Linked DNA regions of Homo sapiens: regions 2, 3, 4 and 5 are each linked to region 1. The links are contacts of gene promoters, found by promoter capture Hi-C in blood cells and fetal thymus (Javierre and others, 2016). All regions are on one chromosome and are shown on one strand. The core of a region is centred on a gene start or on the middle of the fragment in contact, and the rest is flanking DNA. Distances in the headings are between cores, read along the strand shown.

Region 1 (2,700 bases), core at 40-2,539:
CTGTAACTGTTTAGTAAACCAGAATTCCCATCTCTGCCTTGGTTTCCTAATCTGCATAATGGGTTTGAGCTTGTCTGTCTAGATCAGATTAACTGGAGTGAAAGCCAGTGGTAAAGGACAGCACACTTTGAAGTTGAGGATTGTGAACCTTGGGCCTCTCTAGAAGATCTTCAAGTTTCTTTATTTGGTTCTTGTGATGAAAAGAAAGATCCCAGGAGGTTACAAGGGATTCATTCTGGGAGAGAGAAAGGCCCCTCCCCGGGATGGTGGCGAGCAGGGGTTCCTCTGAGAGCCCTCACTCTCCGTGGCCTCAGCGTAAGGTTCACATTTCTGCCTTTGGCTCCTCCAGAGCATCCCTGATAGCGTCCTTGGGCTGCTGCTGTCCACAGCTCACCTGTGATCAGACATGTGTCCTCCTTGGGGTGCTGAGCTGGGGGCTGTCAAGCCTGGTTGGCTGAGCTCTTAACGAGTGGGCGACTCAGGGAACCCCATGGCTGATGGGGTGGGATTGGTGCTAGACCCTCTTGTGCAGCTGCCCTCCCCCTGTTCCTTGTCCACTGACCTACTCAACAGGCCTGTCTGGGCAGACAGCTTGTCAGTTTCCTCCCCAGCCCTGCATCTTGCCATACAGTGGGCTTCTGGGTAGGTGGCTATGGGGTGTCCTGGAGGTAACCTTCTCAACTTCTACTCTGGCCTCATCTCCTTATCTGACTTCCTCCCCAGGAGAAGCTGGTACCCCTCCCTTGGCAAACAGATTTGCCTTGCCTCCCAGTCTGCTAAACTCACTGGGCCTCTCAGGGGCAGAGTCCAGGAGGCTAGAAGAGTCCAAGGGGAAATGCTTGTGGGGTAAATGAGTGGGTTTCTCTCATCCCAGCTTCTGTCCCTTCCTCCCTGCCCTCCCCCTGCTCCACGTCCCTGCCGCCTGAATGTCTGGCTGTCACCCTGAGGATGGTTGTTTTGCTCTCTCCCACAAACTAATTATGGGTCCCAAACTGAGGACGTCAGTGTCTCTCCCCTAGCCCCTCCCCCAGTTTCTGGGTCATCCCCCTCCCCAGGAGATGCTGACTGGCCTGCCCTGGTGTGTAGGGTGGCTGGTCCCAGGCACTCACCTGCACAGTGGCTGCTGGCCTGTAATTAGCTCCCCAAGGAGGACGAAGAAGAAAGGCTGCAGCTTTCCCCTGCTTTCACTCTGCCCTCCAGGGCAGCCCTCCCTGCAAGCCTTCCATTCTGTGCTGTGACTGTGACCTCTGTTGGACCCCTGGGGCTGAGCCTCATGCAGCAGGGGTGCACACAGAGGGAGGAGTCTGACAATTGAGGGGTGTTCGAGCCAGCGAGGCCAGCCCGCTGGTGCAGGCAGAAGGGGGAGCCTGCCCCAGAGAAAACTCTGGAAGCAGAAATAGAATAGAAAGAAGGAAGGAGGCCAGGAAATGAGCCTGGTTCACATGTGTCCTGGGCCATGTGAGTCAGACCTGTTGTGGAGTCCTGAGAGCCCCCGAGGGCCCCCCTGAGGCCCTGCAGTGTGTGAACATTCCTCTTCAATGCCCCAGGGCTGCTGACCCTCCTGCCTCAGGCCCAGTGTTATCCCCCTGGATTGGGTGGGTCATCTCTTTTCCTCCCACCTGAGATTACCTCCCCCTCCCCTCTGCCGCTGGCCCAGTGGTTTGGGGAGGTCTATGAGGCTCGAATTCCAAGACCAGAGAACTCCATGGTGAGAGCCGGAAGAGAAGGCAAGACCCTTGGCCAGTACCAAGAGCAGCCCTGGCTTTCACTACTGCTTTCTCAAAGGGGCTATGCATTGATTTGATTTTAGATGGTACCTGGACAAGCTTTTTTTTTTTTTTTTTAACTGTTATAGTTACGTTTTTATTTGATATGCATTAGGAAACTCCTGTAACTAGCACATCAAATCTGTTACTTCAGCAATTGTTTAGCATGCAGCGAAATAAGAAAAGTAAGTTAATTGAAATAACTGGTAATAAACAGTAGCGCAAGCTGTACATAAGCATGGTAGACATTTTGAAAGTGATACACAAAAGACTAAAGTTCTGAAAATTGAGGCCCAGAGGGATCAACAGGCCTGATAGTCCCTTAGTCAGGAACCAGGCCTGCGCACTCTCACCCCCACCTCTGACCAGTCTCTCAGCTCCAGAGGCCTATGGAGCCTGTAACCCAGCTTTGTCCAGCCTCCTGCCAGGCTGCCCCTGGGCAGGCCTGGTGGTGCAGTCTACCGACCCCAGCCCAGCCCTGCATTTCCTAAGCTGAGCTCCTCTGATCTGTATTCCCTTCACCTTGGAGGATGCCACCACTGTAGAAAGAATGAGGCAGACTGCAAGATTGGGGTCCTGGGAACATGGGTGTGTATGGTGAGGGGAGGTTCTGAGGTTGTAAATAGAGGCCTTGAAGGAAATCGGGTTTGCTGAAGTCACTCAGGAGTTTGGACTGTGTGTGAAAGGATGGTCTGAAGGGGCTCTCAGAGGTCTCAGGGTTCCCCTCCCTGCACCATGCTGCATGGGGAAGAAGGAGGTGGCTGGGGAGCTCAGCAAAGGGCCCCTAGGCTGCAGGCAGCAAGGTTGCGAAATGGGTCCCAGGTCCAGCTGGCCAACTTCACTTTTCCCTTCCTCTCCCTTTCTTTTATTTATTTATTTTTTTAGTGTGTGTGTTTTCGAAATCACAACAGGAAATGGGGTAGTGATTTGTCTA
Region 2 (2,700 bases), core at 180-2,679, 410 kb before region 1:
CTGGGACTACAGGCATATGCCACCAAGCGCAGCTAATTTTTGTATTTTTAGTAGAGACAGGGTTTCACCATGTTGGCCAGGATGGTCTCGATCTCTTGACCTTGTGATCCACGCGCTTTGCCCTCCCAAAGTGTTGGGATTACAGGCATGAGCCACCGCGCCTCACCACGAACAAGAGAAGTTTAATGTTGGTTTCTGATCAGCATTATCCAGTGTATAATAGCATGTGAATCCCATAAAATTTACTGTAAAAAAATTATGCGGCCAGCTAAATTTGGGATATTCTAAACACCATGATCTCTTCTTGGAGTTTTTCATGCATATTATCATATGAAAGACTGTGAAATACTGTAGTAAAAGATACTTTTAATCTGTTTAAGTCAGAATTTCCTAAATTTACTTGACCTTAAAATCTTTTTCTTACATAACAGCAGGTGAAAATCTTGTATTGTTCTATTAGGGCATCGTCATCTAACCTTTGAACCTTATTTGGTTTCCATAACCAAATATACCATTCCCATGCAACTACTTCTCTAAGGAGGCTAATTCAATTTATTTAAAATTCATAACAACAATTACAAACAAGGAGTGATCAATGATCTGAAACATACCTTATGGTCGGAACAGTAAATGGATCAAACTGGTCCACTTTCTGCAAATCAATAGGCACAGATATGCGACCTGTAAGACACAAAAGTTATAAACTGATGATTGTGGACTATAAATCATTATAGTCATCTCCTACAGGTTATTTTTGGTTAAAATTTTTATTTAAGGCTTAGACAAAGGGTTAAACTTATCTGTTAAGAAGAGTATTTAGAAATATAAATTACTTTCACATTAGCTGTGCCCTTACTCTTTTTTAGAGTTAATGCCTCACTTTGTCACCCATGCTAGAGTACATACAGTAGCATGGTCATAGCTCACTGCAGGCTTGATGTCCTGGGCTCAAGTGATCCTCCCACCTCAGTTGTCTCCCAAAGTGCTAGGATTATAGACGTGAGCTACTGCTCCTGGCCTGGCCAGTTTTTCAATTTTTGTTGAGTTGGGGTCTCACTATGTTGCCCAGAACTCCTGGCCTCAAACAATCCTCTTGCCTCAGCCTCCTGAGTTGCTGGGATTACAGGTGTGAATGACCATGTCCAGCATGCCTTTTATTTCTCTTTAAAAAACCAGCCAGGTGCAGTGGCTCACGCCTGTAATCCCAGCACTCTGGGAGGCTGAGGAGGGTGGATCACAAGGTCAGGAGTTCAAGACCAGCCTGGCCAAGATGGTGAAACCCCGTCTCTACTAAAAATACAAAAATTAGCTGGGTGTGGTGGCGGGTACCTGTAATCCCAGCTACTTGGGAGGGTGAGGCAGAGAATTGCTTGAACCTGGAAGGCAGAGGCTGCAGTGAGCCAAGATCGCGCCACTGTACTCCAGCCTGGGTGACAGAGTGGGACTCTGTCTCGAAAAAAAAGGAAAGAAAAAAAACAAAAACAAAAACCAATAAGCAAATGTGAAGACTGTTGAGCTATTTCCCAGTTGCTCTTATCCCTACTTTTATTTCTATATTTAGAAATAAAGTATATTTAAATATTCCATATTTAAGTTCAGAACAATCTCAGAGTTAGTGAGTCCTGAAAATAGAACAAAATAGATGAAACTATAATATTTACATTGGCTTGGTTTATTTGAGATCAATACAGATACCCACATGTCAGACACCTTTAAAAAGCATTTAGGAAATAAAATAGAAATTCCTCTACTCTTTTATAATACCCCCCTAGGATACCATATAGAATTTAACACATCTCAAAAGTGACGTAATGAGGCTGGGCGCAGTGGCTCTTGTCTGTAATCCCAGCACTTTGGGAGACTGGGGCAGGTGAATTGCTTGAGCTCAAGAGTTCAAGACCAACCTGGGCAACATGGCAAAACCCTGTCTACAAAATATTAGCTGGCTGTGGTAGCACATGCCTGTAGTACCAGCTACTCAGGAGGGTGAGGCAGAAGGATCGCTTGAGCCGATCGGTGAGCCGAGATTGCACCAGTGCACTCCAGCCTGGGTGACAGAGTGAGACTCTTTCTCGAAAAAAATTTTTTTTTGTTTTTGTCAGTGCTAGGAGTAGAGTTCATTTCATTTCTTTCTTTTTTTCTTTTTTTTGAGACAGGGTCTCACTCTGTTGCCCAGGCTGGAGTGCAGTGGCACCATCACAGCTCACTGCAGCCTCAACTTCCCAGGCTCAAGTGATCCTCCTGCCTCAGCCTCTTGAGTAGCTGGAACTACAGGCATGCACCACCACGTCTAGCTAATTTTTGTATTTTTTGTACAAAGGGTGTTTAGACATGTGGCCTAGGCTGGTGTTAGACTCTGGGGCTCAAGTGATTTGCCCACCTTGCCCTCCTCAAGTGCTGGGATTACAGGAGCAAGCTACCACATACAGTCACACACAATTTTTTTTTTATGACCTTGGATGGGTTACATCTTGGGCCACTGTTTTCTCATCTGTACAATGAGAGCTGTTGTCCTAAGATTTTGATGGTCCTCTCCAAATCTAATATGGAACCTCAGAAACCCAACTGAAAAACAGTTACATAGTAGAAACTCATCTGGTAGCTACTTAACTGACTTAGGTATTGGGTGACAGAGCAATTCTTCTACCTTTAAATCATAGACATTATATATATTCAGACCTAATGCCATGCTTACTAAAG
Region 3 (2,700 bases), core at 16-2,515, 390 kb before region 1:
TTTTTTAACGCTTTTCCTGTTTGGAAGGAAAAAGTGCAGCTCGCTGCCAGCAGTCATTTAATTTTACATAAGCATGCTCTTTGAGGCTGAAACAAATCTGACTGATTTCCAATGTGAAAATAAAATATAAAAACTGTTCTTGGAGTTCTTTCTCTCTCTCTCTCTCTTTCTTTCTTTCTCTTTCTTTTTCTTTCTCTCTCTCTCTCTCTCTTTCTCTCTCTTTCTTTCTTTTGAGGTAGAGTCCCGCTCAGTCGCCCAGGCTGGAATGCAGTGGTGCAATCTCGGCTCACTGCACCCTCTGCCTCCCAGGCTCGAGCCATTCTCCTGCCTCAGCCTCCTGAGTAGCTGGGATTACAGGTGCCTGCCCACATGCCCGGCTAATTTGTGTATTTTTAGTAGAGATGGGGTTTCACCATGTTGGCCAGTCTGGTCTTGAACTCCTGACCTGAGGCGACCCACCCACCTCATCCTCCCAAAGTGCTGGGATTACAGGTGGGAGCCACTGCGCCTGGCCTCTTGGAGTTATTTCTAAACAGAACTAACATTAAAGTCATTGGAATAATTAGAATTGTGGATTAATCAAAGAATGATGTTAACATCATACATAGGAATTCAGCATTTTCTAGGATTTGACAGTTTTAATGATCAGAATTACTGTATTTTGTAAGTGGAAGTACCACTACTGAAAACAGAATGCTGTTAATAGAATGATGTCTTTTGTTTCCAAAGTCAGTAATACTAGAGCAATATGAAAATAATAAAAGCAAGATATTTCACGGCAAAGTTATCTCTGGATAAATGCTGCAGCTACAAGTGCTGCCAGCAAGTATTCTTGGGGCAAATGGGAAAAGGGTTAAATTTTAAATTTATTGTTATTTTTATTTTTTGTAGAGATGGGATCTCACCGTGTTGTCCAGGCTGGTCTCGAACTTCTGGGCTCAAGCAATCAGCCCACCTCGGGTATATTAAGTATATTCAGAGGAACGGGCCAGGCCAGGTGGCTCATGCCTGTAATCCCAGCACTTTGGGAGGCCGAGACAGGCAGATAATGAGGTCAGGAGTTTGAAACAAGCCTGGCCAGCATAGTGAAACCCCATCTCTACTAAAAATACAAAAAAATTACTAGCCGGGCGTGGTGGCATGTGCCTGTAGTCCCAGCTACTCGGGAGGCTGAGGCAGGAGAATCGCTTGAACCAGGGAGTCGGAGGTTGCAGTGAGCTGAGATGGCGCCACTGTACTGCAGACTGGCGACAGAGTGAGACTCCATTTCAAAAAAAAAAAAAAAAAAAAAAAAAGTGCTCTGGCATAGAGGCCTTTATCTCAAATGCCACTGGGAGGCAGTATCACCATTCAGTTTGTTTCCCTTTGTGATTTCATACACATAGGTGCAAACCCCTTTTTTCCTTCAGTCCTTATGCTACCTGGCTCTACCATCGTTTTTAGTCTTTTTTTGTGGTATATCTATCAGCCTCAAGTTTCTTGCCCCATGTTGTTTGCAGACTTCGACACTTGCCTCATTGATTGCCTGTCTAGTTTAAGTCCTATTGTTATTCTGGGTGTTTTTAGCATCTGAAAGGATGATCTATTCTGTAAAGGTATGGTTGATTCAGTCATTCATGAATTCATTCATTTATTCCACAAATAGTTAATGAACATATGTGTTGGGCACTGAGATGAACTGTGGGGAAAATAATTAATGACATTATTTCTGCTTCTGAGAAAGCTATATCATACTAGGGGCAATAGACACAAATAAAAAAGTGTAATGAATGAGCTGGGCATGGTGGCTCATGTCTGTAATCCTAGCATTTTGATAGGCAGAGGCAGGTGGATCACTTGAGCTCAGAAGTTTGAGACCAGCCTGGCCAACATGGCGAAACCCCATCTCTACAAAAAATACAATAATTAGTGTGGCATGGTTGCTCATGCCTGTAGTCCCAGGGAGGCTGAGGTGGATTGCTTGAGCCCAGGAGGTTGAGGCTGCAGTGAGCTGTGATTATGCCACTGTACTCCAGCCTGGTGATAGAGCAAGACCCTGTCCCCCCGCCCCAAAAAAGCGTAATGAAGTATTATAGGTGCATTTTTAACCCAACTGTCTATTTGTTTTGCCATGTTCTTAAGACATGGATAAGATTAGTACAGGGAACACAGGCACAAAAGTATAAATGGCACTTTTGGGAAGCTGCCAATAGTTTCATATGGACAGAGCCCAGACTTCAAGGGAGGGTATAGTGAGAGATGGGGCTAAGAGGTAAGCCATGGTCAGAGCATTGCCTGCCAAGTTAAGGAGTGTGGAAGTAAAAATTATTCATCATCTACTTTATTTGGTTAAAATGAAAATAAACTATTGATCCTATTAATATTTGACAAGAAGCCTTGGGAGTTAAAATCCTGTTGAAGTAAGTAAGTTGCTTGAAAACTTGGAGTACTCCTATGTTAGTTATTTTCCTTGTTAATAAAATAAAGAAGAGAAGATTAGAAAATATGTTACAGGACCAACAGGTTTGTATGCCCACTGCACAGCAACATACCAATACACTGAGACAGTAGGGTTTGCAGCAGAGAAAGAGTTTAATGATTGCAGGGCGGCTGAGCAAGGAGATGAGAGGAGATCTTCAAGTCCATCTCCCTGAGGAGTTCTGGGCTGGGGTTTTTAAGGGGATTGTGGAGAATGAGGGACTGGAAAATTGGGGTCATTGA
Region 4 (2,700 bases), core at 187-2,686, 490 kb before region 1:
TAATATTCCAAATCCCTGGCCCCACATGGACAAGCTTATCTCAGAGATAAGACCTAGGAATCCACATTATCACAAAAAACTCCATGATTTTGATTGTTTGAGAATAGGTTCAAGATGAATCACAGCGCAATAGAAATAGGGAAGTAACTAAAGCTATAAAGGCTAATTAGCTGTGAGGCCAGAGAAGGAACAGTGGTTGAGGGGCAGTTAGACTGCATGACACTTAGTTGTAGTATAAGCAGCTTTGCAGTTCTTTCACTCATGATGATGAGATACATAATGGGAATGGGTTGCTAAGTACTCAACTGAAGGCCATTGGATTTGAGATTAAGAAATTTAGGATTGGGGCTGGGCAGGGTAGCTCACGCCTGTAATCCCAGCACTTTGGGAGGCCAAGGTGGGCAGATCACCTGAGGTCGGGAGTTTGAGACCAGCCCGACCCACACAGAGAAACCCCATCTCTACTAAAAATACAATATTAGCTGGGCTTGGTGGCGCATGCCTATAATCCCAGCTACTTGGGAAGGCTGAGGCAGGAGAATCTCTTGAACCTGGGAGATGGAGGTTGCAGTGAGCTGAGATTACGCCACTGCACTCCAGCCTGGGCAACAAGAGCAAAACTCCGTCTCAAAAAAAAAAAAAAAAAAGAAAAGAAAAGAAATTCAGGATTGGCCTGGCACAATGGCTCAATCCTGTAATCCCAGCACTTTGGGAGGCTGAGGTGGGTGGATCACTTGAGGTCAGGCGTTTGAGACCAGCTTGGCCAACCAGGTGAAACCCCATCTCTACTAAAAATACAAAAATTAGCCAGGAGTGGTGGCACATGGCTGTAATCCCAGCTACTCAGAGAGCTGAGGCAGAAGGATCGCTTGAACCTGGGAAACAGGCTGCAGTGAGCCGAGATCATGCCTCCATGTCAAAAAGTGACTCCGTGTCTAAATAAATAAATAAATAAATAATTTAGGAGTGAGTTCTGGATAAGTTCTTCACATGAACAATGAAATTACCCAGACTGACAATACAACTTGCGAACAAATGATTTGTCACTTTAGACTATCTGGGAAGAGCAAAGCAAGCCTGGCAATATCATTATTTTTTTCTTTTTGAGATGGAGTCTAGTTCTGTCCCGTGGGCTGGAGTGCAGTGGCTTGATCTCAGCTCACTGCAACCTCCACCTCCTGGGTTCAAGCAATTCTCCTGCCTCAGCCTCCTGAGTAGCTGGGATTACAGGCGCATGCCACCATGCCCAGCTAATTTTTGTATTTTTAGTAGAGACAGCATTTCACTGTGTTGGCCAGGCTGGTCTCCAACTCCTAACCTCATGATCTGCCCGCCTCGGCCTCCCAAAGTGCTGGGATTACAAGCGTGAGCCACCGCACCCGGCCAAGCCTGGCAATATCTTAAATGAGTTGTCACCAAGCCTTATTTGACCACCTACATATACCTGGATTCCAGATCCCATTACCATTGCCTAAATTTAGCCCTTCATCTCTTACCACTTGAATTACTGCACAAACTTGTTTCTTTACCTCCAAATCCACCTGCAAAACATTACTCATGCTATGGTATTTCTGAAATGTATTTCACCATACTGTGTTGAGGGAAAGATATTTGGTGGCGATATACGACGCTTTTTACTAGCAGGAATAGACATTCAACATTTAATTGTGGTCAATGTTTAAATGAAACCCACAGATCAGCCTGGCCAACATGGTGAAACCCCATCTCTAGTAAAAATATAAAAATTAGCTGGGCATGGTGGCACACGCCTGTAGTCCCAGCTACTCGGAAGGCTGAGGCAGGAGAATTGCTTGAACCTGGGAATTCAGAGATTGCAGTGAGCCGAAATTGTGCCACTGCACTCCAGCCTCAGCGACAGAGCGAGACTCTGTCTCAAAAAAACAAAAAACAAAAAAACACAATTGTCCCTTGGTATATTCCAGAGGAGTGGTTTCATGACCCCTCCACCACCAAGCATACCAAAATCAGACAGAACCCTCCGTATTCATGGGTTTGGCATTTTACAAATACTGTATTTTTGACCTGCATTTGGTTGGAAAAAATCCACCTAAAAGGGGTTCAAACCCATGTTGTTCAAGGTTCAAGTGCTCAAGGATGACAGAATGTAGGGGTTAGAACAGGCCTTTACAAAAATCCTTAGAATTCACTGTTAAAATTCTCCATCCTACTGCCACCCTAGAACTCCATTTCAGTTGTCCTCTTATTTGCACAGGCTGCTAGATTCGACCAGGAAGTCCTACTCTGTATTCCCTATTACACCCTTAGTTATCAATTTATTTAATCACTATCAAAGCAACTAGATGTTAAGTTTTTCACAAAGTGCCAGCCTCCTCCCTACCTAGCCTACATCTTTTCCTATTTGGTACAATGCTGGGTGATCCACAAATAAAAAATTGTATTTTCAAAAATTTCTCAAAAGAATTCCTGCTAAACAGGAGAAATTTCAATTAGCTTAGAACTAAAATGGGGGAGAAAACCTTCATGCTACTGTAGCAATCACCCTCAATCTGCCCTCCTTGGAAATAGCTAAGTTTAGGGAACCGTATAGCACCAATATCACAACCTATCAATATGGACAAAAAATATGCTATACCCATTCATCTAAACTTAAAAAATTTCACTCACAATCTTAAATTGATCATTTTTTTTTTTTGAGAGGGGGTTTTGCCATGTTGGCCA
Region 5 (2,700 bases), core at 186-2,685, 430 kb before region 1:
CCCCAAGGCTTTTCTTTGCTAGGGTGGCTTCAGGAGAAAGAGGTATCTCTGGAGAAGAGGATGTACTTTGGAAAGAAGGGGAATTTTTAGGGGCTGCCTGGACTAACGGTAATACAGTAGGGTCTTTCTTGGTGGTGAGTCCTGCTTGGGCTGGAGAGAAAGGGGCTCCTTCAAGAGAGGCAGGTACAGTTTGGAGGTCTTTTTGTGTTGGAAATTTAACCAATACTGAACTGGGGAGATTTTTGAGGTCTTCAGGGTCTGGCAGAGGAGGAGAGACTGGTATCCTCAGAGTGGTTGCTACTTGAGTAGAAGGCTCTTTGGGAGCCACAGGTGCCATAACCAAGGCAGCAGGGGAAGTTGGTTCTATGTTACTTATGGGACCTGATGACATTGGAGGAGAAACACAAGTAGCTACCTCAAAGGTAGTAGTAGGTGCTGCAGCAATTGTACAGGGGTTAGTCACCACAAGTGGGGTGGTTCCAACAGAAGAAACGGGCATTTGGGCCACTAAAGGATAATGATAAGTGGCATTAGGAGAGCTTTTGAGAATGAGAGAGGTTGTAGGAGATAATGAAAAAGAGGTAGCTACATTTAAGGAGCCAGAAGGGCTGCAGGTTATGCTAGAGATGGTAGAGGGACCTTTGTCAACAGATGGAGCCACCACTGGAAAGGCAGCCACAGTAGCAGGAACTACCTCATTTCTGGAAGGAAGGGGAGGAATTACAGATCTCTGAGAAGGATAAGAGGCCCCTGTGGAAGAATGATCTACAGAAATGGTCTTCACTGTAGGGTCTGACAAAGCACTAGGACCTGTTTGACCTAAAAGTTGGACAGAACCAAAAGAACTCTGATGTAAAGGTGCAAGATGAGAGCCCAGAGAAATGGGAAAATCTGGGGGGGTGTTGGGACCCGCAGTCTTTTGAGAAGAGGTCACCACAGGAAGAGACTGAGTTGAAAGAGATAAGGCAGCAGGTGGACTAACAGGCCCCTTCAGGCTGAGGCTTCCTGGGTTTTGTGGAGAAATCAGAACTGAGGAAATGGTGGTATCTTTGACTTGAGGGGAAGCGATGGCTAGGGTAGTTGTGGGTGTTGTCTGAGGAAGGGAGGCCACTCCAGATTGAATAGAGGCCATGGGAGTCACACAGTGGTAAGGAACAGTACTGACTATACATGGAGGGCTGGGGGTGCCTTTTGGATTAGGGACTACCTCAGAGGGAACTTTATTAAGATTAGTCTTTGGTTCTGAGGGAGCAATGGGAGCTGACAGAGTTATCACTGACCCTGACTCAGCTACAGCCACTGAAGGAGGTGAAGTAAGAAGGTTAGGTGGAAAAGCAGAACTCTTCTGAACTGAGTGGGGAGCCAGGGCAACCAGAGCTAAGGGAGCTGAAGAGGAAGGGGTCCCTTTCAGAGTTGGAGCTATCATGGGAGAGGCTAGAGCTAAGGCAGCTGGGGAGATGGGAGGCCCTATTAGGTTTGGTAGGAAGGTTGGGGCTTCAGGGGCAGTTCCCAAAGGTAGGGCTGTTCCAGAGGATGACTGGGGAAAAGGAACTTCTAAAGGGGTCGAGGCAATAGTAGAGGGGGAAGGGAATGGGGAAGCCTGGTTAGCAGCTGAGAGAGGGCACTGTTGTGGGGCAGGAGAGCAAGGAGGGGGGAGGGTAGGTCCAGGCTGCCCTAAGGCAGCAGTGACACTCAAGGCTGAAGACATAGGTAGCACAGCTGGAGAAAGGCAAAAGGAGATAAAGAAAGGGGGAGGGGGAGGAGAAAAAAGGTGAGTTATGCAGCCCAACTTGGTACAACATGCCTCCTAGGAAACACTGGAGTTTAAAATCTGACAGTCTAAGTCACCACGCAGGATTAGATAAAGGTGACAGGCAACAACAACCTTCCCCAAACATTTTTCAGTGGTCAAGTGAGAAGACATTCCCCTCCTAATTTCTCACACTTCCCCAAGTTCTACCAAAGTAAACCAACTATTTTAGGGTGAGGAGAACAGTCTAAGAGCAGCCTATCTCTAAATGGGGAGCACAGACTCTTGGTAGGTTGAGAACAACATGCTTTCTATCCTTTCCCAGTTGTGCCCTCCCCTTACTTCTTGAAATGGACTGTATTCCCAAGTCTTTCTCACAGCCAACAGAATTCCCACGAGAAGAACAGCTGTGCTACTCTGTCCACCCAAATATCATGAACAGAAAAGATACTGAAAACTGGAACAAAGAAGTTAGTGAGCAGTGACGATGATGGGGAATCTGAACTGAATAAGAAAACACAGGCTTTTATACTTTCAGGCTTCCACTAGGCTAGGAAACATCTGACTCTGTTAGAATAGTTTTGGGAAGGAGGTGCACAGCACAATTCAGTTCTTCCTAAAGTTGAAACACTTCAGAATTTAATATCAAGTATTAAAGTCACTTAGCTTCTTTATACCTTACCAGTTTACTTACTCACAAAACCCAAACAAGAAAACCAACCACAAAAGGACTGTAATAGTCTCTATAAACCTTCCTAGGTGATGTTAATTCTTCAGACATCAATCCAAGATGAATTAGACATGAATTAGACCTCCAGGCAGAGAGCTTACTCACAAGGGTAGGGACTGTATTATGAAACTGTAACCTAACTTGTTAAACCAGATTGTGGTGCTATTTTGGAAGAAGAGAATTGGAGAGCCTGTAACAGTGGCTCATGCCTGTAATCCCA

The links. Contacts are between HindIII fragments. The CHiCAGO score rates a contact against its expected background, and 5 or more counts as called.
Region 2: a fragment that was not itself captured here is called in contact with the fragment with the promoter of LRP1-AS in region 1 in 3 of 17 cell types (total B cells, total CD8 T cells and activated CD4 T cells); the score reaches 5.7 in total B cells.
Region 3: a contact is called between a fragment that was not itself captured here and the fragment with the promoter of LRP1-AS in region 1, in 4 of 17 cell types (M2 macrophages, M0 macrophages, total CD8 T cells and 1 more). The highest score is 6.9, in M2 macrophages.
Region 4: a fragment that was not itself captured here is called in contact with the fragment with the promoter of LRP1-AS in region 1 in 1 of 17 cell types (monocytes); the score reaches 5.3 in monocytes.
Region 5: a fragment that was not itself captured here is called in contact with the fragment with the promoter of LRP1-AS in region 1 in 2 of 17 cell types (M0 macrophages and M1 macrophages); the score reaches 6.4 in M0 macrophages.

What each region holds. Positions count from the first base shown.
Region 1 is chr12:57,146,330-57,149,029 of GRCh38, forward strand. It overlaps LRP1-AS (LRP1 antisense RNA), which reads right to left and starts at 1,290. Exons shown (of 2, transcript NR_131938.2): 1 at 1,110-1,290. The region is part of intron 6 of LRP1 (LDL receptor related protein 1); the gene reads left to right. RefSeq lists enhancers at 1-832, 2,690-2,700. The HindIII fragment of the contact is 5,560 bases long and covers 1-1,824 here.
Region 2 is chr12:56,738,683-56,741,382 of GRCh38, forward strand. PRIM1 (DNA primase subunit 1) reads right to left here. Exons shown (of 13, transcript NM_000946.3): 10 at 612-681. Among named protein-coding and RNA genes, the nearest start is that of PRIM1, 12 kb to the right of the region's middle. The HindIII fragment of the contact is 3,398 bases long and covers 1-2,700 here.
Region 3 is chr12:56,756,350-56,759,049 of GRCh38, forward strand. No RefSeq gene overlaps it. Among named protein-coding and RNA genes, the nearest start is that of PRIM1, 5.4 kb to the left of the region's middle. The HindIII fragment of the contact is 3,519 bases long and covers 1-2,700 here.
Region 4 is chr12:56,659,002-56,661,701 of GRCh38, forward strand. No RefSeq gene overlaps it. Among named protein-coding and RNA genes, the nearest start is that of ATP5F1B, 14 kb to the left of the region's middle. RefSeq lists a silencer at 1,470-1,670. The HindIII fragment of the contact is 2,808 bases long and covers 33-2,700 here.
Region 5 is chr12:56,719,741-56,722,440 of GRCh38, forward strand. It overlaps NACA (nascent polypeptide associated complex subunit alpha), which reads right to left. Exons shown (of 9, transcript NM_001365896.1): 3 at 1-1,719. Among named protein-coding and RNA genes, the nearest start is that of NACA, 4.2 kb to the right of the region's middle. RefSeq lists an enhancer at 1,076-1,195. The HindIII fragment of the contact is 4,291 bases long and covers 1-2,700 here.